Linked DNA regions of Homo sapiens: all the other regions are linked to region 2. The links are contacts of gene promoters, found by promoter capture Hi-C in blood cells and fetal thymus (Javierre and others, 2016). All regions are on one chromosome and are shown on one strand. The core of a region is centred on a gene start or on the middle of the fragment in contact, and the rest is flanking DNA. Distances in the headings are between cores, read along the strand shown. Region 1 overlaps TDRD3 (tudor domain containing 3). Region 2 holds the start of PCDH9 (protocadherin 9). Region 3 has its middle 620 kb from the start of DIAPH3-AS1. Region 4 overlaps LOC105370228 (a long non-coding RNA gene). Region 5 overlaps DIAPH3 (diaphanous related formin 3). Region 6 overlaps TDRD3 (tudor domain containing 3). Region 7 overlaps TDRD3 (tudor domain containing 3).

Region 1 (3,330 bases), core at 434-2,933, 6.8 Mb after region 2:
CACATCCTCCTGCATACCTGAAATCATCTCTAGACTACTTAAAATACCTAATACAGTGTAAATGCTATGTAAAATTATATTTTATTTTTTATTCATATTATTTTTGTTGTTGTATTGTTATTTTTATTTTTTTTTATTTTTCCAAATATTTTAGATCTGTGACTGGTTGAATCCAAGGGTGCAGAACCCACAGATATGGAGGGCCAACTGTATTCTTAAACCTTAAAAAATACAGAATTTACCAGATTTTCAGATAAGCCTAGTACACAATTAGTTGATTCACTGCAAGGCAAAGATTTATTTGATTCTAATAGGATCACCCCTCAGAATAAGCCCTTTATCTTTCCTGGACTAGGAAAGTAAATTTACACACCACAAAATGCTTCAACCCAATTTTCAATTTTTAAATGTGTCACTTTTGATCAATAATTTAAATTAGATGCGGTCACTTCTGTTAATTTTTGGTGGAAATGAGTACTGAATCTTTATTCTAGACATCTGGGCTCTATTCTTGGTTCTGCCATTTATAACTCTGAGCAAATTATTGAAACTCTCTGTGCTTCAGTTTCTTCATATGCACAGAGAGAGAGTTAAGCTATGCAACATTAATTCCATGGAAGACACTTTTTTTTTTTTTTTTGAGACACAGTCTCGCTCTGTCGCCCAGGATGGAGTGCAATGGTGCAATCTCGACTCACTGCAACCTCCGCCTCCTGGGTTCAAGCGATTCTCCTGCCTCAGCCTCACCAGGTAGCTGGGATTACAGGGGCCTGCCACCACGCCTGGCTAATTTTTTTGTATTTTTAGTAGAGACGGGGTTTCACCATTTTTGCCAGGCTGGTCTCCAACTCCTGACCACCCGCCTTAGCCTCCCAAAGTGCTGGGATTACAGGCATGAGCCACCACTGCGCCCAGCCAGAAGATACATTTTCAAAAACAAAAACACAACTGATTAGGTACCCCGTGACAGGTTTCTGTTAAAAACAAACAAACAAAGGAGGAGATGGAAGAGAAAAATTCAAAATGTCCAGAGATCAACATTTTGAATCTTTCTCCTGTGAGTAGAATTTTATATTTCCACTCACAGTGATCAGGGATATCATCCTAAAGGAGAATGAACCTCTGAAGAGAGAAAACAAAAATGCAGAGTGAGTAAAATTGTTATCTAGATAAATTCAGAGTCAAATTTCTTCTCCCCGTGAAGTTATTCCATGCATATAATTAAGCTTTACAAGGTACCATTTAGTGCATTATTTAAACATTATCACTACTCTGTAGAAAGCCCTGGAACATTCAAGTTCAAATCAGCAAAATCTAATAGTTTGTGTGCTACTGGCCATTGAAGAACAAAAATTATTTTAAGTCCGCCAGGTAGCTACTTTTGAAGTTATATTTTAAAATACTGATTTTTATAGGGGTTCTAATGAAGATTAAAACCTTAAGAAGGAAAAAAACTGCGCTTAAAAATAATGTAAACTTGAACAGATTGGTCTACATAGATCTTCTGTACCCCCCTGAAGATCACATTTTCAGAATTGTAAACTTTTCAGCACTAAATATTTCCCTAATCTGCTATTTTAGGTGAAGCCTATAGAACAGATTTAACAATAGTGTGTCCATGTTTTAGCATCTACTTCTTTTTAGCTTCTACAAGTAACTAAGTACATAGATTTGAATACTAAGAAAAATGGTTTGTCAGTGACAGTTAACAGAGAACCCCAAGTGTAAGAGCAAACTCAGGATATAAGAACTAAAATGAGTTGGTGAAAGCCCTTCAGTCAGAAATTTTCCCTCCAGTGCTCTTTTCTGCCTTTAAACCTTTGTGATTCTAAATTTTAACATAGTAAGTCCCCAATTAAAGACCTAGTAGAAGCCACCTGAAAGCCTAGGAGATCCTCATGCCTAGTCTGTTCGAGACCTAGCAGGAATTACATGAAACTCACAATTCCTAGAAAGATAGTGTTTTTAGCCCCGCAGATTACTACTGCCTTTATGAGTCACTGCCATACAGAAGCAGCACAGACAGGTGGGAGAAACATAAACAGTTAAGTTGCAATATAAAGTAGCAAATGCTACAATATAACATTGCTGAAGATTTATAACAATATAACGAAGCAGGGTGGGACTCTACCTAAGCTTCTGCAGAGGCCCTGCCCAGAGAATTCTGACTGGCAGGGGCATTCCAAGGTCAACTGTATTAGACTTTACAGAGAACCTACAATCTGGTGCATTTCTTGACAATCCAGATAAGGAGAAAAATAAGACTCACTTCCCTGCCCTGGAAAAGCATAAGAGGCCAGAGAAAACAAAGTCAACACGTGTTCGGGACCTAAAAAATGAGACTAATCTTTCCAAAGGAGGGGGGGTCATGTTGGAAAGCAGTAAAATACTGAGTTTGTAAATGAAAATATTACTAGTGTGAAGGATCAACGCTCAACCTAATGAGAAATGGGGAGAAAGGCAAATGAAAGAGGGATCCAAGATTATTCAGGACACCCTTGTGGGTAAAAAAACTGAAAGAAGAGATTCCTATTGAACAGAAACAAAACTGAAGACAGTGTTTTTAACTCTACAATCTTTTACGCCCATGCTGTTCTGCGAAAAAACTGTAACAACAATAACGCATAAGCGTTAAAGGAACCAGGCCCAGAGCCAGGCCCTCTGTGCTCAACATTCAACTCCACCACTTTCTAGCTATGTCATTTTGGGAAAGTTACTTAACAGCTCTTTGCCTCAGTCTCCTCACCTGTAAAATGGGGTGTATAATAACACAAGTGCCTTTAAAATCAGGAGGGGCTTCTTCAAAGCACAGTTGTGATTATATCCCTCTACTGATCAAAAACTTTATTCACAAAATCAAATCCACATCTTTCACGAACCATATAGATCTTGTGTAGGTTCTGCAAAACAATAAGCGCTTCCCTGTGTCATCTCCAGCAGCTCTGTGCTAGAAAGCCTTTTCCTTACCATCTTTCCAAGTCCACTTTAGGAAAGTAACTCTCCCTCCCATTCCACAGTGCACTCATCTGTTCCTCTGTACGTACGGTTTATCACTATTCCCCCTGGTTTTGTTTGGTCTTTTAATGCCTCACTCTTTCTCCTAAAGCAGTAATTGCAGAGAGCCGTTGCAAATCTTTTTCATCCCCGTTCCTACCCTTCATCCCAGAATGTGCCTGTGCAAGCCTGGGAAAAGCGTTACTGAATTAAACGGGATGATTACAACCGTAATGGCCGCAATTCCAGAAACTGCCTAATTTCGCATAATTTTGTATTGTTTTCAAATCCTGAAAATCTTGACACGAAAGGCCTCTTAAAATCAGAACACCATCC
Region 2 (3,559 bases), core at 334-2,833:
TATTGTACTCAAAAACAAGGGGTAATCTCCAACACGCCCTCAGTCAAGAGCTTAAGTATGTCAAGAGCCTTTAATGCCTAGGCAGCCCATTATAGAATGGGGAACACACAGGTTTAAAATAAATGCCCTTTATTCTTCCTGTAAGTTAGACCAAGTTATTCAATCATGTACTAAGACCTTCTCTGACAACCTTTATAGGTCATTCAGAAAATAAATTTTTGTTCCAAGTGAACTGTTCCTATGTTAATGCTTCAAACTTTACTCAGGTATCAGGCGTTAAGTACAAGCCATTACACAAACCTTTGTGGTTTACTGACTTTGAAAGATCAATCAAATATATTACTAGATAGTGCTTTGGGGGTCAGTATTTGAGAAATAAAGCTGTATTTTTTGGGGAGTCATTCCATCCAGTTCCCGTATGAAAACGAGAAACTTGTGAGGATTTAGTACAGAGCTGGAGTCGGAGAAATGAAATGCACGGGAAAAGACGAAAATCACAGGAAAGAAAGTTGGAATCAGCAGAAAGTGCCTAGGGGAAAGGAAGTGTTCCACAGCTTGGGAAACAGCTGCCTGGGACTCCTTCCAGCCCCTCGGAAGCAAAGTTCGCAGTGAGGTGGGCTGGAAGCGGGTTTTGCAGCAGCCGCGAGTCCGGGCTCAGGTTTCCAGGCGCGGCTGGAGCAGAAGTGCAGGGACCGCCACGATCCACCGCCGCGGCCGGTCCCGCTCCGCTAGAGGAGACTTCGCACGCGCAGCCGACTGGCCCGGGCTGACCGAGGGGACCCAGACGCTGCCACTTTCTCTTTCCAAGGCAGTTTCCGTGGCTCTGCATGTAGGAAGTGCTCCGATTAATTTTCTTTCCGGTCTCCGCAGAGATTCCAAATTCTGCGGTCCCCACCTTTCGCTGTACTCCCTCTCCGCCCTTCTTTCCAATGTCCCTGCCAGCAAAAGCCTCTATTTGCAGCACCGGGCATGTTGTCCGTTTAACGCGCTCCGGGGATCTGCTGGCTCGTGCTCCCAACCCAGGGGTGGCTATACGTCTCGCGCCTCTGTTCCTGGGTAGACTCCCCCATCTGTGCATTTTGGCCCCTTCACTTAGCAAAGAGATGTGCGAAGTGTGCGCCTGGAGACGAGCCGCCTCGGTGACCCCCATCCGCCCGCAGCGGTGGCCCTGGTTCCCCGGATCCGCGCCCGCGCCCTGCGGGTCTCCCGCGCCGCCCTTGCCCGCCGGACCACCCGGGCTCAGAGGGTCGCTCGCTTTCAGCGCCTGCGAGCGCCGCTTCCGCCCGGGCCTGGGGAGCGCCAGCGCGTCCCTCCCACGCCGGACCCTGCAGAGCATGCTCAGTGCACCTCATGGAACCCGGCTCTCCTGGGGCCAGGATCAGATTTCCGGGTTTTCGCTGCTGCCGAGGGGGCGCGGAGGAGGGGAGGCTGGGAGACAGTCAGCGCCTTGTTCCGCGCTCCCTCCCTCGCGCCGGGCTGCGGCCGCCCGCGCCGCAAGATGCAGGCCAATCAGAGCCCGGGGGCGGGGCCTGGGCAGTCACGCCCTCCCTCTGGGCTTATTGAGAGTTATATCAAGAAATTCAGTTCAGAGAGAGGAGAGGGAGAAGGAGAGAGGGGCAGAGGGGAAGGGAGAGAGGGAGAGCACGCGAGACGGAAAGGAGCGCCTCAGAGTCTCTGAAGCACGCAAGAGATAACCGATTAGGAATTTTTCGGGCAACTGTCACCCGGATAGCTGTCAGAGAATCATCATCACCGCAACTCTGACGTTTCCTACAAGAAGTTAGAGACTTAAGCAGTATTGGCATCGGATGGAAATGGTATGCATGCTGCTGTGGAAAATATCCCTGAGCTGAAGAAGTGCAACTATGTGTTGTGTGTGCTAAATGCCCAGAAGAACCCAGACCCAGTGGGTAAGAGAGACGAAATGTGGAGAGAATGACTAACGACAAATCCGTGAATTTGTTCTCTGGAGTTGCTAATTTGCCAGCCCGAAGCAACACATTTTACAAGGAGGAAACATTTTGCTGCTTCTGATTTCTCCCCAAACTGGTGCTACCAGATGCATGGCTTTCTATGTGTTGGAACAAATCATTCCTAACTGCAGCATACTGGGAAAGGGGAAAGGTTGAGGCAACTAACGTAAGTGTAAAGTTTCGCATGCACAATTGTAAATTCTGTGTTTAGATGTGTCCTCAGTGTAGGCGAAAGATGCTTGTAATTGGGTAGACGGTTGGGGCAGAGCTCACCTACTCGGCTGTATCTGCATCCCTACCTGCATCACTCTGCCGGAACTAATCGCGGGCATCAGCTACTGTGCAGCCTAATGCAGATAAGATTAGAGCCTGAGAACTGACCAGTCCTACTCAAGTAGGTAGCTGCCTGGAGCCTTGCACCCATTTAAACTGCAGTTATCTAAGCAGAAGCCTTTTTACCTGCATGATTGGGTTGCAGTATTTATGTGTGGCAAATGTTACTAATATTCTAACCAGAGATCAGGATTAAGAAATTGCATTTTTTTTCTCTTTTATGTTCAGTAGAAAATATTGTGATGTTACATGGGAATGTTAGCTGCGTTTCACTTATATCTCGGCACTCTCTTCCACCTCTAGGAAAATGAATCCTATATTATTATACATTTTTAAAAGTTTTAATGTGTTTATGAATCCTAATGAGGATAATTTGTCAATATGGAGAAAGGAGAGCAAGCTGTGGGCAAGAAATCTGAAGTCTTGTTGTTGTGCTTTTAGGCAATGAGGATGTGTAGAGGCCGGTGACTATTGCTTCTGATGCCGCTGCAGCGGCATGTCCGGATGCTCGTTTCCCAGTAAGATTGTATTAGAAGGCAGTTGAAGAACTGGGAGGAAAGAAAAAGATAGCCTTTTTAGAAAAGATAGGTGACTCAGTGGGGCAGAGAAGAAAACACATTTGACATGTGACAAAGCAATTAGCAGGAACCGTAGCTAAATACTTAGTGTTTTTCACTTGCACCTGAAAAGACTGAGGGAGGTAGGTTAGAGGCTAGGAGGAGGGTGAGACAGGGGGAGGGGAAGAGGAGAACAAGAATGCATGTTTTGAATTAAACAGTATTCTGAAAAACAACGTGCGTGAATATAGGTAAAAATAGCAGCTGTCCTTAATTCAAAAGTAGAAAATTTTATTTTCTCCCGGCAAATGCAACCAGCAGGAGATATTTAGTGTTTTTCTCCACAGAGTAAACTTGCAAACAGTGGCAGAGCAAACTGCCATGTTTACTAATGTTCAGGGGAAAATGTGTGGTGATATTTTGTGACGGTGTGTTTTTATTTACTGAAGAATAATATTGTCTATACAATTGTGTTGACAGCGGCTGTCTCCAAATAAGTGATGAGATATAATGCATCCTCCAGTCCATGCACGCTTCCTCTTGCAATTTGTGCATCATTCCTCAGTGGAAACCTTTAAACCCTAAAATCCAGGAAAAGAAAATAAATACATTATCATGGACCTGAGGGATTTTTACCTGTTGGCTGCTCTGATTGCCTGTTTAAGGCTGGATTCCGCAATAGCTCAAGAACTTATT
Region 3 (3,242 bases), core at 143-2,642, 7.8 Mb after region 2:
GTGTCCATCTAGAACAGCTCTCCCTTGCCATTTTGTAGTTTGCAACATTAATATTTTCGAAGACTCCAGGACAGATGTCCTAGAGAAAGTTCCACAATTTGAATTTGTCTGATACAATTCTACTAAGGCAACTGTGTTCAAAACCTACTTAATTATTTCTCTTTTTTTGTGTGTGGTTATATTATCAAGTTGATATATAGTTAGATTCATTTGTTTCTGTTTGATTTCAATTTTAAGAGTTTGCTTTTGGTAAGTCCTTTTTAATATAAATTTAAATTTAGAATTATGAAACATTTACATGATTCAAAAGGCAAAACTTCATTTAAAGTGTCTGTTCAGAAGTTTTATTCCTGCTTCTTTCTCCAAATTTCCATCCACCCCTTATGATAAACCATTTTCATTAGTTTCTGATTTGTTCTTCCTATATTTTATTTTTTAAAAATAAGCAAAAAAGTTATACATGAATTATATATACACATAGGTATATATGGGTGTATATATATATGCATAGGTATATATGTGTGTATATATATATGTGTGTCTATATATACATATATATTTTCTGCCCTATGGGAAACATATATAAATATTATCTATCAATCTATATATCTTCTGTGGCTGTGCATTTAGGTTTTTCCCAATATTTGCTATTACAAATAAAGCCTTAGCAAATAATCTTGTGCCTATGCTGTACTTGTGGAGGTGCAACTGTGAGTATGGGTGCCATGCTATACCAAAGGTAAGTGCATGTATCATTTTAGTACATATTGCAAATTGCCCTCCATAGGGTTGTATCATTCTTCACCTCCACAAGCAATGTGTGAATGGATCTGGCATGAATCTGAACACTTTACATTATCTCACTGAATCCTCACAACAACTTTTCCTTATTATGACATTATTTCTTTGTTTTGTGACCCTTATGTATACGTGGGAGATTAAGGCTCAGAGATCTTCAGTAATGTCTCCAGGGTTGTATGGTAAGTAACTGGCATAGCTAGGATTTGAACCAAGATGTTGACTCCAGACTCATGCAACTAACCACCTCACTGTACCATATACTCCTTACATTAACTTTCTTGAATCATATTTTTGGTGTATGGATAGGATTAATAGGAAATTTCCTATTCCCAGAGATGATGTTCCTGAAAACCTCAAGGACTTCTGGAGAATCAAAAGAACTTACTAACTTAAGGAATGCCAGAGAAGTAAGAGAACAGCTTTCATGTTCATGCTGTTTCTTAAGGAGATGAGTGTTCAATCCAAGTCCCTAGGTCTCATCCAAAGATTCTAACCTAGTAGGTTTAGCTATGACAGCAAGAGTCTTTGAAAGAGGAGAAGTTGGCCAGGTGTGGTGGCTTACACCTGTAATCCCAGCACTTTGGGAGGCTGAGGCGGGCGGATCACGAGGTCAGGATATTGAGACCATCCTGGCTAACACGGTGAAACCCATCTCTACTGAAAATACAAAAAATTAGCTAGGCGTGGTGGTGAGCGCCTGTAGTCCCAGCTACTCAGGAGGCTGAGGCAGGAGAATGGCGTGAACCCAGGAGGCAGAGCTTGCAGTGAGCCAAGATCGCACCACTGCACACCCGCCTGGGTGACAGAACGAGACTCCGTCACAATAAAAAAAAAAAAAAAAAAAAAAGTTTTAGGAAGGCTCCTCTCTCGGAACAAGGCACGAGAGTACAGAGAGTTGGATCCAGTTCTAAGGCAGAGTGGGCTGCTGGGAGGAAAACAGGGAATCAAAACCAAGGTAAACAATTTAGGATTTGGGGCAGGCTCCAGTCCCAGCAGAGAACTGGAAAACAAACCAGGAACCTGGAGAGGCTCTTAGGACCAGACTTAGGGGGTCAGCTTTTCCCATGACAGAGACAAGAAGTAAATAAACATTTCAGATACAGATAAATGCTATGGTCCAGCACAGTAGAATAGAGAGGAGTTAGGATGTTTAGGGAAGACCTCTCTGAGAAGGTGGCCTTTGAGGTAAGATATGAACAATGAGTTGGCCAAAGACCTGGGGGCAAGAAACTTCTAGGCAAAGAAAACAGCAAATGCCAAGTCCTGAAGGGAAAATGAGGCTGGAAAAATACGTTACATAAAGTCTGGTAAAGCTGGAATAGGTAAAGTTGGAATAGATAAAGAGGAGGTCAAAGGCACAGATCAGGCGGGGCCTTTGTTTAAGGTAAAAGAATTTGGGCCAGGTGCGGTGTCTCACACCTGTAATCCCAGCACTTTGGGAGGCCGAGGCGGGCGAATCCCGAGGTAGGAGTTTGAGACCAGCCTGGCTAGCATAGTGAAACCCCATCTCTACTAAAATTACAAAAAATTGCCGGGCATGGTGGTGGGTGCCTGTAATCCCAGCTACTCAGGAGGCTGAGGCAGGAGAATTGCTTGAACCTGGGAGGCAGAGGTTGCAGTGAGCAGAGATCGCGCCATTGCACTCCAGCCTGGGCAACAACAGTGAGACTCCCGTCTCAGAACAAAAAAACAGTTTGGACTTTATTCTAAGTGCATCTGAGCATGCTTGGGGGAGGCAAGTTTTGATGGATTTCTGGAATGTGTTGCAATTTAGTCATCAGGAAATGTATTTAAATTCAGTTCTATGAGGTATGATAAGTTCTAAGGAGACAGGAATAGAAATAACTGCTATTGATTGTATATACTCATTTAAGTAAGAGTTATGCTATGGATTGAATGTTTCTGTCCTCACCTAAAATTCATGTTAGAACTTTAATCTTCAGCAAAATGGTACTTGGAGATGGGGCCTTTGAGAGGTAATTAGGTTATGAGGATGAAGATCTCAGGAAGGAATTAGCGCATAAGAGACCTAAGGGAGCTTGCTTTCTCTCTTTACTCTCTGTTGTGTAAAATGAGAAGACAGCCATCTCCAAACCAGGAAACAAGCCCTCACCAGGCACCGGAAATGACAGCACCTTGATCTTGGAATTCCCAGACTCCAAAACTGTGAGAAATAAATTTCTGTTGTTTAAGCTGCTCAGTCTATGATATTGTTTTTTAATATGTATAGCAGCTGAACTGACTAAGACAAGTTTTTTTTTTAAGGCAGGGTATAATAAGAGGCTGAATGTAAGGTTTGGCCAGTGGTGTGAGTTAAAGGACATTTACACAAAAATAAGTACCTTGCTACTCATGCTTATTGCCCCCAGATGATTTATCAAGCCAAGTATATTCTTCACATTCTAGTAAGGATACAGTACTTGTTCCAGTACTATATGCAT
Region 4 (3,698 bases), core at 727-3,226, 6.9 Mb after region 2:
TATTTTCCTCCTCCCCACATCAAAATGCAAAAAAACAAAAAACAAAAATACCCCACCAAAGATAGCCCCTACTGCTGAAAAACAGCATGTGGGAGGCAGAAGGTAGGAACTGAGCTGAATAATAATATTGTTCAGCATTTCCTTCCATTATCACTGCTCTTCATTACTTCCTGTACTTAAGCTCTGTTCAGAAATGTCAAGCAAATAGCCAGGATAGTATTACCTCCAAATGCACATTCTATCTACAAATGAGCGGTGGGGGAGAGGTTGATCCTTATTATATATAAACTGTAAGTCTTTTTAAAATTCAAGGCTCTTAGAAAAGCCTGCATAAATTCATTCATTCTCAAATTTAGACCTTCCAGCAGATGATAGCTTTAAAATTGATTATTCTAACTTTAACAAAGTAAAATGAGATTTCCCAGGAAGTATTAATAAGTGGAATTAAATATAGTGGATAAAAATGTAAATAGATTAATAATGCCTGGAATGTGTATAATTTTGTTCATTATACCTCAAACTACTTTTTAAGTCTATTTTTTATTTATGTTGCAGTATTGTATCTGTATTTTTTAATCTTCATTTTATTAACAATAAAACTAAAAATATATATCAGAAGCTGTTTCTTGATCATTTTAGGTAATAAAAAGAACTCAGGGATCCTGGGTAATTCAAGTCACTATATATATTAGCTGTCATAAATTCTCAACAAATGGCCCTGACTGTGACCCTTGTTATACTATTGACTAACAGCAAAAAGGTAAAAGGGTTTTTTTAAAAAACAAAACAAAACAAAACAAAAAAAACACTCATTTTTGTAATACCTATAGATTCCATAAGGTGGTAATGAGTTAGGCTCATTAGAGTAGTTACAGGAATGTGACAGACCCAGTAGAAAAATACCCTTCTCTTTGAAAGTAATATATTGAGGGGCATGCAGTCAAAAGCTTATTGGGTTAGAAATAATATTGGAAGCTCTTCTTCACACCAAAACCCTGTCAAAGACTTACTTACTTTCTCCAATTTCTCTCCTCTATTTTCACTTAAACCCATCTCATTTTGTCCCCATTACTCCTTTGAAACTGCTCAAGGTCATCATAGGTCTGCAGATTGCCAAATCCAGTACTCAGTCTTTCTTTACCCTTTTGTGGCCAATCAGCCTTGACAATGGACACAGTTGAGCATTTCTTTCACTCTGATACATATTCTTCATTTGACTTGCCAGATACCATAGTCTCTTGATTTTCTTCCTACAAGAGAGAGAACAACTTCATAGAAATTGACCCATTTGAAAGATTTTAAAAATATTCTCAGAAAGACATTCTTTGTCAATGCCCTATAATCCAAGATGGCTGAGGGTTCAGTGATCTGAAGGTTTGCAATATTATACAAATAAAATAATCTGCACTAAGCTAGAGAAATATAAACAAAGCAGGAGGTGGGAAACCTAGCATGAGATGAAACTGGCACTTAAAAGAAGTCTGATGGTCTGGCTCCTACCTAGCATCACTTGTTATAAATTCTCTTCTTGCAACAGGGGATAATTATTTTAATTGCAAATATTCACTGGGTTTGCAGCTTGGGGGCCAAAAGTCAATTAGCCATTGCCTCTTCACTGGCAGACCATATGTTCACTGTGCTGGGAGACAAAGGCCGAGATAAAGGTCCTGAAACTGGGGTCTAGGCAAACAAAGAAGGAACTGAAGGTAGTTGCTAAGAAGTACAAATCCCCTGCCCAGCTTCTATGTTGAAAGACTCTAACTTTACATCAACAGAGTTGGTGATTAACCCATGGAATTTACAGACTCAGAGCTAACTAAATTCTTTTAAAAACTGCGCTGCCAAAGAAATTCCAAGATTAATAAACAAAAGTTGATAATTACTAAACCCCTAAGTCCTAAGAAATCCCTTCACTTCCTCTCAGTGATGTCCTGGTAGAATGGTAATACTGGCTATGGGGAGCATTTGATTCATAGTTGCTGATTTTGTGGTATAAATACTCCCTTCATGGCCATTTCAAGCTATCAACATGTTTCACTGGATACAGAGGTGAGAAGGGATGTATACAATTGGCTCTCACACTCCTGTCTCCTCTGTACCAGGAAGTGGGGTGTAAAGATGTACATCCACCACAAGGGGCTTCCTTCCTATTACTCATTATCTATGGAGGATACCAGATTTGGGAGAGCTTTCCAGAGGGAAGAAAAGAGGCAGCTAAATTCGCTGTCCAAAAATTTTCTTTTACCACCCAGTCAAAAAGTTCCTCATCTGCAGGACATGATATATAATATTGAGTCAGTCACCACTTAAAGTTGTTTCCCATTCTATCCTCCTCTCTAAAAGAGTTCTAAGTTGATATTAGCCTATTTCTATCTACAATTACATTTTGAGTGTATTGGGAGGGATTAGATTTATCATTTATCTATAAGTTCTCAGACCATGAGAATTATATTAAGATCTAAACATGCTGATATGGTTTGGATCTGTGTCCCTGCCCAAATCTCATGTTGAATTGTGATCCCCAATGTTGTAGGTGGGGCCTGGTGAGAGGTGATTGGATCATGGGGGAAGGTTTCCCCTCTGGTGATGTTCTTGTGACAGTGAGTGAGTTTTTGTGAAATCTGGTTGTTTAAAAGTATGTAGCACCTCCCCGTCTCTGTCTTCTTCCTGCTCTGGCCACATAAGATAAGCCTGCTTCCCCTTTGCCTTCCCATGACTGTAAGTTCCCTGAGGCCTCCCTAGAAGCAGATGCTGCCATGCTTCCTGTACAGCCTGCAGAACCGTGAGCCAATTAAACCTCTTTTCTTTATAAATTACCCAGTCTCAGGTATTTCTTTATAGCAGTGTAAGAATGAACTAATACACATGCATAACCGAGATATTATAGATTTATAGTTAGATGCAGTAATTGTACCAAATGCTGAGTTGTCTCACTTGCGGGAAGGCATGAGTACACATGAAAGTGTGTCATTACGTGGCAAATTAAGACATGTTTGGAAGCTTATCTACATGAAGAAAGATGTGTAGTGATGTTAAGTTAATCAAAGGGTAGGTTCCAGATGATTTTCTTAAGTCATTACCCCGCTTTTGCTAGCAGTTTTGTATTTGAACTTCTTTTGGGTTCCCATTTCTCTGCAACTCTTGCATCCATGTGGTTCAGGTACAATTTCATCTCTTGTTCCAGGGATGAAGCATATGACTCAGGCCTGGCCAGTCAGACTACTAATTTCCCCTAGGGGATAATTTGATTTGGAATGGGAATATGACCCCAGTTGGTCCAGTAAAAATAGCATCTAAGATTCTGCTGGAGTTACCAGTAAGAGACATGTTCCCTTTTTACATAGGTTTAAATCCGGGATGATACAAGCCTGGAGATACAAGAAACCACTGCTTGAGGCCTTAAAATGATGCCCCACAGTGGATAGCATGGTTGAAAAAGATAACTTGATTTATTTTAGCCCTTGAATCAAGCCAAACCTGATGAAATTAGGTTGTACAGGCCAATACATTCTTCAGCCTGTTTGAATTGGATTTTCTCTCTTACAACCATTTCAAGCACTTCTCTGGTGTATTTCAAATTGAAGAGAAAAAATTTACACTAGATTATAGAAGTTGTATATTTAATATGCACACTTCATCTGATTCCCTTAACCACAATCTACTTGTTTAATTAAATGGAATGCTACCATTTCAAAAAG
Region 5 (3,759 bases), core at 481-2,980, 7.1 Mb after region 2:
GGGAAAAGATGGAGGTGATATCTAAATGCTCTTTTTGATTTTTTGAACTTGTTCCTTCATTGAGTTCTCAGCTTAAGTGATGCTCTCAGTTGTCCTAGGGTTAAACTGTCAAGAATTGAGATACTGTTTTTAGTTGAAAGCTTTAGGCACCTAAATTTTATTCGTGTCAGAATTCTACCTAACACACACCAGGCATTGTAAGCTTCAGAAGGAGGTAAAATCATTTTATTCAGGCTGCTGTTCTAAGAAATTGCTCTGAATTTTCCCAGCCATTCTTTCCTTTCTATCCTTCTTAATAAAACAGAAAAACCCAGAAATTTTTTTAAATAAATGATTTATCAAAAGAAACAATATATATTAAGTGGCTTTTTGGGGGATACATTTAGTTGCTGAAAGTAGATAACATATGGCATTTAATACTCCTGGACCACTCTGGGTCTTTTCTTTGACGGTAAAAAGGGGTGGGGGTAGAGATAGGGATGATTGTCTCAGATTTAGAACAGGGCTTAATTGCTTTTTTCAAAGACTCATGTCTTTAATTATGAAGCAAGCAAACTGACATACATTTATTACATGGTGAAACCTTGCATCTCATCTAGTCTATCTTGTAGCAATTGCTTCTGAACAGATGTTACCTGAAACACCTTTGTGCAGTTGGTGGAATGCTAAAATTTGTCATGCTTTTATTATTGTTGTCTTGAATTAACTCTACTTTATGGCGTAACTTTATTGCTGTGTCCTAGAATCTTTATATATTTATTGCCTTATAAATTGGATTTAAAATTGGCTTTTTATATAGAATGTAAATTAACATGTGTCTAACTTGTTTATGCTGCAGAATAATACAGGAAAAAACTGCTACGTATTACACTAATGTAATTGTCTTTAACTTAGCACATAGTATCCTCTAAACTAGGAATCAAATGAATGCTAAAGAATATGCTTATCCTTACACTCTTGCTTGTTTATCTCAGAAACTAATTTGACTTTTAGATCTATAAAATATAGATTAAGCATAACCTTTTACTTCATGGGATATTAAGGATCAAAGCATGGGCTTTCTTTGAACAGGATCTACAAAGGTAACTTTTCTTTCAGTAGCAGCAGGATGGCATTGAAATACCTTACCATTGGGAGTAATTTTTCTCAAATAGCAAATTGAATAGTCTTTATTAACTTAGGGGAGAATTTAAGAGTTTAAATAAGCTTTGGTCCTGAAACATTCATGTTACTAGTTACTTAGTGAAATCTATTTGGAAATGCTTGCCATAGATTTTATTCTTCAAAAGACCCACTGCTATCTTTTCTTACAGTTTTTTGTAGAAGAAGCGTTATGAGTAACATTTATGAGCAGTGACTTGAACCACTCTCAGGGGTTGAATCCCAGCAATATCACTTATTAGCTGTGTGAACTGAGCAATTACTTAACCGTTCTCTGTGCCTCCCCTTTCTCATGTGTAACATGGGGTTGTCATGAAGATTAAAAGTTATGTTTTGGGCCTAGAATACCTGGCTCATTGTAACCTCTATGGAAATATTTGCCATTTATAGGATTGTTGTTTTTGTTATCATTAGTAGTAACAGTAATAATAGTACAATTTTTGCCTACACTTTAGGGCATTAGGAATACATTGGATATTTGAAAAGCTTTCTAATCTTGGAAAACTTAATTGAACCAGGCTATTTCCTCTTGGTGTGCTGGAGGCAGAGCCATTCTGTTCTTAGTTCTTATCCTGGCATACCAGGTAACATTTGGATTGATGCAGAGTTCTGATCTGATGACTGAATGGTCAGAGCAAGTTTCTGAAGCTTTCTTAGGGGCCTGTTCTTTATGTCTAAAGTGGGGATAATAGGATGATGAAACTTGGGGTACAAATGTAACTTACAAAAAAACGTATAAAGGAAACAACTTCAAACTTAGGAAAAAAAATTCTTGTGATACTCCAATATGGACTTGAATGATAATAAAAATAATGTTACTAATATATGTACAGATATAAAACTAAGTGTAACTCTTTATGCCTATCACTTTTTACAGCTATAAAACTAAAACAGATTTACATCTACAATCCAAAACAAAACTATAAAACCCATAAAATTCAAATTAACAGCAACATTAATTTAATGCGATTGATGATGTTTTGCTGAAATTAAGTCATCATTATTGGATTTAATAGTGGAAAAATATGTGTATATTTTGCTGTTTTTCTTTCTATCAATTTAATTCTTGGGTGGAAATGGAATCCCAGAGGCTGAGGAAGATATGTGTAGACTGAGGAGTTCACAGATAGCCTTACACTGTTAGCAGAGGCCTGTCATCGGACACCATTATCTTTTTCATAGGTGTTGGCTTGAGGATGTAGATGAAGTAGTGAACTGTTATAAACCTGTTTTTAAAAAGAAAATAGCCATATATAAACATTTTTTAGTAAATGTTATAAAACTGTTGAAGCAGCAGAAAAAATAAAAACTCTTATACTTCCAGCTTCTATATTCATTTTTCTCTTGAAATCTAATTTTCCATACCTGTGGGTGCATAGTTTCCAGAATAATGTGATTTTGGAATTATAAATAGCCATTTGGAACTGAACTCTTCCTAAGTGGAAGAGCTTGTGAAAATCTATTGTGTCATGATGTTGCTTGGCCCTCATTGAGAACCATATTGGTAGTAAATACAAAAGTATTTACAAAAGTAAAACCAAAAGTTCCTGAGAGAACATGGTTATAGAGTGGGTCATTCACAATGTCCAGAATATGCTTACTTTAGTTCTAATGTTTAAGATAATCTTGAAAAAACATAAGACTTAAGTAGAATTTGTGGAAGGCCTCTGTAGACCACAGTTTGGGGTACCCAGAGATGACTTGAGTTAAGAAATTAGATGTGTACCTGAACCAGGCAAATGTTTTTCACCTTAGTCCTTTGTTTAGTGATGAGGTAAAAGTGATTAGTAAGTATCAGTAGTGAAGGATGTATACAATGTGTTTCAAAACAGTTTGCTTCTAATAGTTTTTTTGGTTAAATAAGAAACTTGCAATCTTTAAAAAAATATATTTTATCATGTATGTATCATACAAAAGAGGTGTAAAACACTGTATACTCACTAATAAGCTTAAAACATTAAATATCATAAATTCCATTGAAATGTTCATTTTCTCCCTTCTTATCTTTATCTCCTTCTAATCTTTACTCTTCATTTCCTGGGTTTACAGGGCTTTTTTTTTTAATTCAATTTTGATTTTTTTAAATTCAATTTTGATTTTTTTAGGGTTCCAATTTATATATATATATATATATCTTTCCCTAAAAGTAAATCTGTGAATGGAATTAATACTCAGTAGCTTTCTGATCTCTCCATCTTTGAGGATCATGACAGATCTTAAATACTGGAAAGGAAGGGGGAGACTATGAATTAATGTACCAAGTGTGAGGTCATTCTGTGTGCTGAGGGATGTGGGATATATCCAAGTAGCTGTGGTCTAAGTACACACCCTCTTGAATTAAAGAAGACTGAATACCTGTTCAGTCATAGTTCTGTCAAAGGAGTTATGGTGTAGAATTTCTTGAAGCCCTTAGTAAAAGCCCTGAGTAGATTAATTGTGAGATCCATAATGCTGCATTTATTTAGTTAATTTTATTATGAAGTATCTTCCCAAGATACAGAGAGTTTATCCCGTAATTGCTGCATTTTTTTCCGAGGTTGGCTGTTTATTTGGGTGTCATAAAATGAAACTTTGTAACATTCAGTTTTTAAGTAAAAG
Region 6 (3,598 bases), core at 403-2,902, 6.8 Mb after region 2:
TTTCTGGATGAAAGGTATATTTATTGCTGTTGTTAGTCTTATGCACTCTAAATCATACCCATAAATCCCACTTCTCCCTCCTTTTACATTAAGGGACACCTTGAAAATAAAGAACTTTGCAGTTTTTTTAAGTGAATCAAATTTATGGCAGCAATCCAAAAGAATGCTCTCTGGACCGGGTGTGGTAGCTCACACCTGTAATCCCAGCACTTTGGGAGGCCGAGGCAGGTGGATTACCTGAGGTCAGGAGCTTGTGACCAGCCAGGCCAACATGGTGAATCCCCGTCTCTACTAAAAATACAAAAATTAGCTGGGTATGGTGGCATGCACCTGTAATCCCAGCTACTTGGGAGGCTGAGGCAGAAGAATCACTTGAATCCGGGAAATGGAAGTTGCAGTGAGCCGAGATCAAGCCATTGCACTGCAGCCTGGATGACAGAGCGAGACTCCGTCTCAACACAACAACAAAAGAGTGTTTTCTGTTCAGAGACATCAAGTTTAAAGTGCTCCCTCTCCTGGTATACATGAAGCATACAATACCACCAAAACTAAAAAGTTGAAGAAGTATGAGTTGTAATTGACATATTTTCACATTTTCCTTTTTAAAATAAAAACTTTAACTTCGATATTAAATCTAATGCTGTATTATATGTGTTGGCCAAATTTCAATCAAAGATAAAAATAAAACAAATATACTTAGAGCAAAGTTGAGAAATAACAGTAAAATCTGCTTACGTGTCTGAAAAGTAAATTTAACTAAAGTGGCAACTTCTACATCTTTAAGTAGTATCATACCTTAGGGGAAAAAGGCTGTTTTAAAAATAGGCTTTTAAGTAAAATCTTTCTGTGCATATTAATTTATATTTTCAGCAAAGAGAAATGTGAAATGATAGACAAATATTTACACTACATTTCCTAAGCAAGCATGTTCCTAAGTTGAAAAATTTCTACTCCATATTTATCAGTATTTTGCCTAAAAAAGGAGTAATTTTGTTATTATAAATTTAGGCCTAGAGAACATAATTGGAAAAGATAATCTAAAATTTCATCTAATTTTCACTTACGAAAAAAAATTCCAAGTTGAAGCAAGTCCGAAACTGTTAACAAGTATAGATAAGCTGCTAATTCAGGATGAACTTTTTATTTGGCTTTTGTTAATGCCATTAAAATAAGGACATTTAAATTAAATCACAGGCATGTTATGGTTATTATAGCTCATAATTCTGTTTATTTTGGTATCCCATATTTTTAGCCTAGGCATTGACAAATATCTAGCCTATGCTGTCCAATACAATCCTCCAGCCACATGTAGCTATTTAAATTTTCACTTAAAATTAAGTGAAATTAAAAATTGTTCAATCGTACTAGCCATATTTCAAGTGTTCTATATATGGAGAGCACAGAGTTAGACCACTTTCATCATTGCAAAAAAACCATCACACAGTTGGTGATGATCTAGGCCTACATGTTCCAAAATGAGACTCATGCATCCTAGGCACCGCACTTCCATTCAAATGTAGGAGGGAAACATTTGCTTTTATTTAATGTTTAGTAGTCAAAAAAATCCAACTTTACCAATATTCGATATCTGGAGCAACCATGGCACCCTTATTCAATCCATACAACACAGGTCACTAGGCATCTTCATGGAATTTTGGGAGTTCTACGTCCCCTGGGTGTTGACATGACACCTTCTCTTGTTTGCTTTCAATGTGTTGTGACAAACTGCCTTTTCTTTGTACAGTTAAATGGACACATGCATTACATTACCTAGTTTTACTCACTATTGCTCACAAAGTGGACATGTCACTTTAAAAGATTCTGTCAAAGGAACACAAATTGAAGACAATGCCATTGATGCAAACACAGGGCAGGAATAGGACTATTTTGGTGATCTCCTACATCTGGTTGACTATGAGAACAAAGATCTGGGGAATGAAGGATAAGGAGGAACACCTGCCCCCAAATGCCGATTTCCAAGCAAGCAGCAAGTTTACTTATTTAATTAATCCAACTCCTGGCCTCTCCACCTCTTTTAGTGGGTTAAATAGTGGCTCCACCAAAAGACAAGTCCACCTAGAACCTATAAATATGACCTCGTTTGGGAACAAGGCTCTTTTCAGATGTAATTAAGGTAAGGATCTAAAGATGAGAACACTGTGAATTACAGTGGGCCCTAAAGCCAATGACGAGTGTCCTTAGAAGAGAAGGGGAAACAAACACAGACAGAGTATAAAGACCATTTGAAAATGAAGGCAGAAATTAAAGTTATGCATCTACAAGCCAAAAAAGGCCAAGGACTGCTACAGCTACCAAAAGCTAGGTGAGAAGCATGAAACTGATACTCCCTCAGAGCCTCCAAAAGGAACCAACCCTGCTGACACTTTAATTTTAAACTTCTGGCCTACAAAACTGTGAGAAAATAAATTTCCATTGTTTTATAGCCACCAAGTTTGTGGTAATTTGTTACAGCAGCCTCAGATAACTACTATACCCACTTATGGAATGAGTTACCTGATTGCGAAGAAAATACTGTATATTGGCCTCAGCCTCACTCATCTTCCTCTTGAGATCTAGCCTAGCTAGGGAACATGAGGGAGGGGGCACTTATTCAGCCTCCTCACCGGATTGGCACTTCTACGAGTGAGTGTACAAGCCTACATGTTCTGTGGTTCAGTTAATGCGTCCATTTGGCTGTCCCACTAAGCCACATCTTCAAAATACATTTTAATCAGTAATAAAGTTATTTTGGCCCACATATGCCACTCTTGTACTTGTTAACTGGTTCAAAAGCAAGGTAGAAAGGAGGTATTATTTATTAGATCCTCCTGAGAAACCCACAGATTTTACAGAATCTCTTGTCACTTCTTAATTTGAATCATCAAGCCTTAAGTTAGTAGTTCCACAATTCAGAAATATTCTATGAGTAAACCAGTAAATATAACGATTTTTTTCATTATTCTGCTTACAATATTCAGTTTCTTATACTCTGTAGTTAAAACATAGGGAAGTAATGGACCTAGATAAAATATACATAATAAAATTTTTTAAATGTTATGGTTCTAAGATCCTAAATCCTGAATCTAAAATCATCTTAAGGCTGGGTGCGGTGACTCACACCTGTAATCTCAGCACTTTGGAGGATGGAGGTGGGTGGCTCGCTTGAACCCAGGAGTTTGAGACCAGCCTGGGCAACATAGGGAGACCCCATCTCTACAAAAAATACAAAAATTAGCCAAGCGTGGTGGTGTGTGCTTGTAGCCGCAGCTACTTGGGAGGCTGAGATGGCAGGATCTCTTGAGCCTGGGAGGTGGAGGCTACAGTGAACCACGATTGCGCCACTACACTCTGGCCCAGGTGACACACATACACACAAAAAGGTGTCTCAAAAAAAGTCATCTAAAACATCCACAAAAATAGACAAGAATTAATTTCTAAATCTTTCTTCAACTACTGTTAAGAGCAACTCCAAAGTAAAAAAAATACCAATTTCAAATGAAAATAATAAAAAGGATTAATCTTGATCACCCAAGTCTTCTTTAATGTCTGATTTTCTCTTTTGTATTAGTAATAAGAAAAAATCAAAAGAAATTACTCT
Region 7 (3,317 bases), core at 347-2,846, 6.8 Mb after region 2:
AGGGAAAGAGTCTTGGATATGGATTCCCTGTTTATTTACTATGTCTTATAGAAGAGATGAACAGTGCATACTTTTCTTTTGTACCCTTAAAGAGCTATTGTGTCAATAGGATTATTCATACGCTTTCTGAGAAAAGCTATTTAAATGTCAATATACTTAAGGGATGTATAAGCTGCTCTTTGCTATTATACAAATATAATCTCGACTTAAGTATCTGTTAATACCATAAGATCTTAAAAAGAGATTGAGATGTGTTATAAAAATAAAACTAAAATAAACACTGTTTTAAACTGAGTACAGCAGAACTTCTCTCTGGACTTTCTCACATTATCTTCTCAAGTCCCCTTTCTTTCACATAAGGTTCTCAAGGATCCTTCAATAAAGGCTATTAATTCCAAGTAACACAAAGATAGGCAACTTTTTACAATACATCTTTTACTTTTCCTATCTCTTTTCAGTTTTTTTTACGCATTGTCTTATTTGCCCTTTTTTCTTTTATCCAGTCCAAATCAGCCATGCATCTGTCAGAGACAATTAATTCAAGAGTAAAGAGATTACTGAATCTGAAGGAAAAAAATTCGTCTCTACCCATACCCATGGACATTTTGAAACTCTTTGATAAACTCAACAATTCTAAAATCAACCATCAAAAATCCACTTGTAAAAACCCCAATTAATATCTCACATTTTTTATAATCAGTATCAACCCCTTTAACCAAATGGCTAATGGTACCATCACCATTGCAGACATTCTTCCACAGTTAAAAGGATCCAAGACTGCTAGTCTAAGAGATCTAACTCAAGCTCATTTTTGATGAACAGCAATTCCACCATCAACTCTCAACACTAGACTGATTCTAAGATACTTATCAAAGTAAACCTTACCCAGAAATAGCAACCAAAAAAAAGTGCCTTTAAGAAGTAGAGAATAATTTCTCCAAAGTAAAAAAGCAAGTGAAAAGAAATGTGAATAGTTAGAACAGTACAGAAGAGCAATAGAAGATTAAAGTAGATAAGCCAATGAGCAAGACCAAGGCGATAAAAGTCAGAAAAATATATATTTAAGTCAAACCAAGAATGTTAACAAAATGAGGTACTATTAAAAGTTTAAGACCATGACACTGTTAAACCACAATGATAAATGAAGGCAAGTAGTTAAATGGGTGACAGAGAAAATACAAATATATCGATGAGTCAGTAAGAATGAATAGATGGTAGGCAGGAATGACAGTATATAAGTGACCATGGAATACAAATATCTGCAGTCAATTTTGATGGTTAAAATACTGCTTTAACTCAAAATGGCTATAATAATTTATTATCCTGTTAATTTTTCACTATGAATAATGAAAAATTGTCCAACTGTATCTGTAACTCTAATTAATAATCTTATAAATTCACTTTCATAAATATTATGCCCCGCTTATGTGAAAAGTATTGTGTGAAATCAGTAACAAGATTAGTAAAATGATGAAAACTAAACACCTGCCCTCAAGAAGTTTACAGTCTGCTATACAGTATAACACAATACATAAACAGCTATCATACAAGGCCAAAATAACTATAAAAATGTTATAGGAGCTCAAAGTGGCTGTGGGATGGGAAAAACACAGAAAAGGAATAGTGTAATCAAAAACATGGAAGTGAGTAAGTGTGAAGCACCTTCTAGGAATAATATCCTAGAGCTTTCTGGCTGGAAAATGGAGAAGAAAAAAGAGATAAGTATAGGTTGAGACCAATTTTAGAAAGCAACAGTACACAAAAGGATATGGGTGATAAATTAAATTCTGATTGAGTGATTACAAAAACACAGCTTTCCAAGCTCCTACACAAGAGGGAAATAGTATGTAATGACTAATAGAATATTTTGTTTTCTAGAAAGGAAACTGTAGAATTAAAGAATTATAGGATGTCAGATAAACTAGAATAGATTAATTAATTTAAATTATAATAGATTATTTATATTATAATAAATTAATTTAATTTAAAAATAACCAAAATTCACCTCTTCAACTTTACAGATGAAGGAGTCCTAGAGATGTAAAATTAAACTTGCCCCAAAAATACAAATTTAGAAGATGCAAAGTTAAAAACAAAAATGACTCCTAACTCCCAATTCAGCACTCTTTCCATTATAACACACCATTTTCAGCTGGGCACAGTGGCTCACGCCTCTAACCCCAGCACTTTGGGAGGCCAAGGCAGGTGGATCACCTGAAGCCAGGAGTTTGAGACCAGCCTGAGCAACATGGTGAAACCCCGTTTCTACTAAAAATACAAAATTAGCCAGGCATGGTGGCACATGCCTATAATCACAGCTACTCGGGAGGCTGAGGCAGGATAATTGCTTGAACCCGGGAGGCAGAGGTTGCAGTGAGCCGAGATCATGCCATTGCACTCCAGCCTGGGCAACAAGAGCAAAACTCTGCCTCAAAAAAAAAAAAAAAAAAAAAAGTTTAATTTATCAAACAATTAATGCTGATACTAGTGATATGATAATCTCATTAAAAAAAGCCAGTAGCTATCCAAATCAGTTTCCTAATCAGCTAGATACTTCAGCTCACACAGACAAAAGCAGAACTAGACAAATTCAATTGGTGAGCTCCAAAGTACATTAAACAAGAACAGGTATAAAACTCAGTTGATAAAAGCAGTCATGCTGTTCCCTTCTGCATCGTAGAAGATCAGGAAACTAATATCAACTAATTATTAGATATTCAAGTTTTCAGAAGAATAAAAATATTCCATCCCTACAAAATATTAAAAGGTAAAGTCTAACAAAAATTCTAAAGGCAGAGTTGTAAGGGTTTGGAAACTTGCCTTTATCCACATAAGTCAAATATGTGATTTCTTTCAAACAAGGCCCATACATCACATTGCTAGACTTAAAATTATACTACAAGGCTATAGTTACCAAAACAGCATGGTACTGGTATAAAAATACGCAATGATACCAATGGAACAGAATAGAGAACCTCGAAATAAAGCCAAATACAGCCAACTGATCTTCAACAAAGCATACAAAAACATAAATTGGGGAAAGGACACCCTTTTCAATAAATGGTGCTGGGAAAACTGGCAAGCCACATGTAGAAGAATGAAAATGGATCCCCGTCTCTCACCTTATACAAAAATCGACTCAAGATGGATCAAAGATTTAAATCTAAGACCTGAAATCATGAAAATTCTAAACATTTTCATGGTTTAGAAATTCTAAACATTGGAAAACTCTTCGGACATTGGCATAGGCAAAGAATTCATGACTAAGACCCCAAAAACAAATGCAACAAAAATAAAAAGTAAGTAGAACTTAATTA

The links. The method cuts DNA at HindIII sites, captures the fragments that hold promoters and counts their contacts. A CHiCAGO score of 5 or more calls a contact.
Region 1: a contact is called between a fragment that was not itself captured here and the fragment with the promoter of PCDH9 in region 2, in 10 of 17 cell types (total CD4 T cells, non-activated CD4 T cells, naive CD4 T cells and 7 more). The highest score is 68.2, in total CD4 T cells.
Region 3: a fragment that was not itself captured here is called in contact with the fragment with the promoter of PCDH9 in region 2 in 1 of 17 cell types (total CD4 T cells); the score reaches 5.1 in total CD4 T cells.
Region 4: a contact is called between a fragment that was not itself captured here and the fragment with the promoter of PCDH9 in region 2, in 4 of 17 cell types (naive CD4 T cells, activated CD4 T cells, total CD4 T cells and 1 more). The highest score is 8.2, in naive CD4 T cells.
Region 5: a contact is called between a fragment that was not itself captured here and the fragment with the promoter of PCDH9 in region 2, in 1 of 17 cell types (total CD4 T cells). The highest score is 6.1, in total CD4 T cells.
Region 6: a fragment that was not itself captured here is called in contact with the fragment with the promoter of PCDH9 in region 2 in 7 of 17 cell types (total CD4 T cells, non-activated CD4 T cells, naive CD4 T cells and 4 more); the score reaches 36.9 in total CD4 T cells.
Region 7: a contact is called between a fragment that was not itself captured here and the fragment with the promoter of PCDH9 in region 2, in 4 of 17 cell types (naive CD4 T cells, non-activated CD4 T cells, activated CD4 T cells and 1 more). The highest score is 8.7, in naive CD4 T cells.

What each region holds. Positions count from the first base shown.
Region 1 is chr13:60,398,048-60,401,377 of GRCh38, reverse strand. All of the region lies in intron 1 of TDRD3 (tudor domain containing 3), which reads right to left. Among named protein-coding and RNA genes, the nearest start is that of TDRD3, 2.5 kb to the right of the region's middle. RefSeq lists an enhancer at 3,307-3,330. The HindIII fragment of the contact is 910 bases long and covers 1,229-2,138 here.
Region 2 is chr13:67,228,360-67,231,918 of GRCh38, reverse strand. It overlaps PCDH9 (protocadherin 9), which reads left to right and starts at 1,583. Exons shown (of 5, transcript NM_203487.3): 1 at 1,583-2,139; 2 at 3,344-3,559. The coding sequence starts at 3,479. RefSeq lists a silencer at 1,173-1,312. The HindIII fragment of the contact is 4,939 bases long and covers 1-3,559 here.
Region 3 is chr13:59,394,373-59,397,614 of GRCh38, reverse strand. No RefSeq gene overlaps it. Among named protein-coding and RNA genes, the nearest start is that of DIAPH3-AS1, 620 kb to the left of the region's middle. The HindIII fragment of the contact is 4,044 bases long and covers 1-3,242 here.
Region 4 is chr13:60,378,474-60,382,171 of GRCh38, reverse strand. It overlaps LOC105370228 (a long non-coding RNA gene), which reads right to left. Exons shown (of 3, transcript XR_942002.3): 3 at 724-1,250. Among named protein-coding and RNA genes, the nearest start is that of TDRD3, 17 kb to the left of the region's middle. The HindIII fragment of the contact is 2,053 bases long and covers 950-3,002 here.
Region 5 is chr13:60,152,024-60,155,782 of GRCh38, reverse strand. The region is part of intron 1 of DIAPH3 (diaphanous related formin 3); the gene reads left to right. It overlaps DIAPH3-AS2 (DIAPH3 antisense RNA 2), which reads right to left. Exons shown (of 3, transcript NR_046540.1): 3 at 2,278-2,387. Among named protein-coding and RNA genes, the nearest start is that of DIAPH3-AS2, 9.2 kb to the right of the region's middle. The HindIII fragment of the contact is 162 bases long and covers 1,650-1,811 here.
Region 6 is chr13:60,456,496-60,460,093 of GRCh38, reverse strand. The region is part of intron 3 of TDRD3 (tudor domain containing 3); the gene reads right to left. Among named protein-coding and RNA genes, the nearest start is that of TDRD3, 61 kb to the right of the region's middle. The HindIII fragment of the contact is 6,261 bases long and covers 1-3,598 here.
Region 7 is chr13:60,436,259-60,439,575 of GRCh38, reverse strand. The region is part of intron 1 of TDRD3 (tudor domain containing 3); the gene reads right to left. Among named protein-coding and RNA genes, the nearest start is that of TDRD3, 41 kb to the right of the region's middle. The HindIII fragment of the contact is 3,464 bases long and covers 1-3,317 here.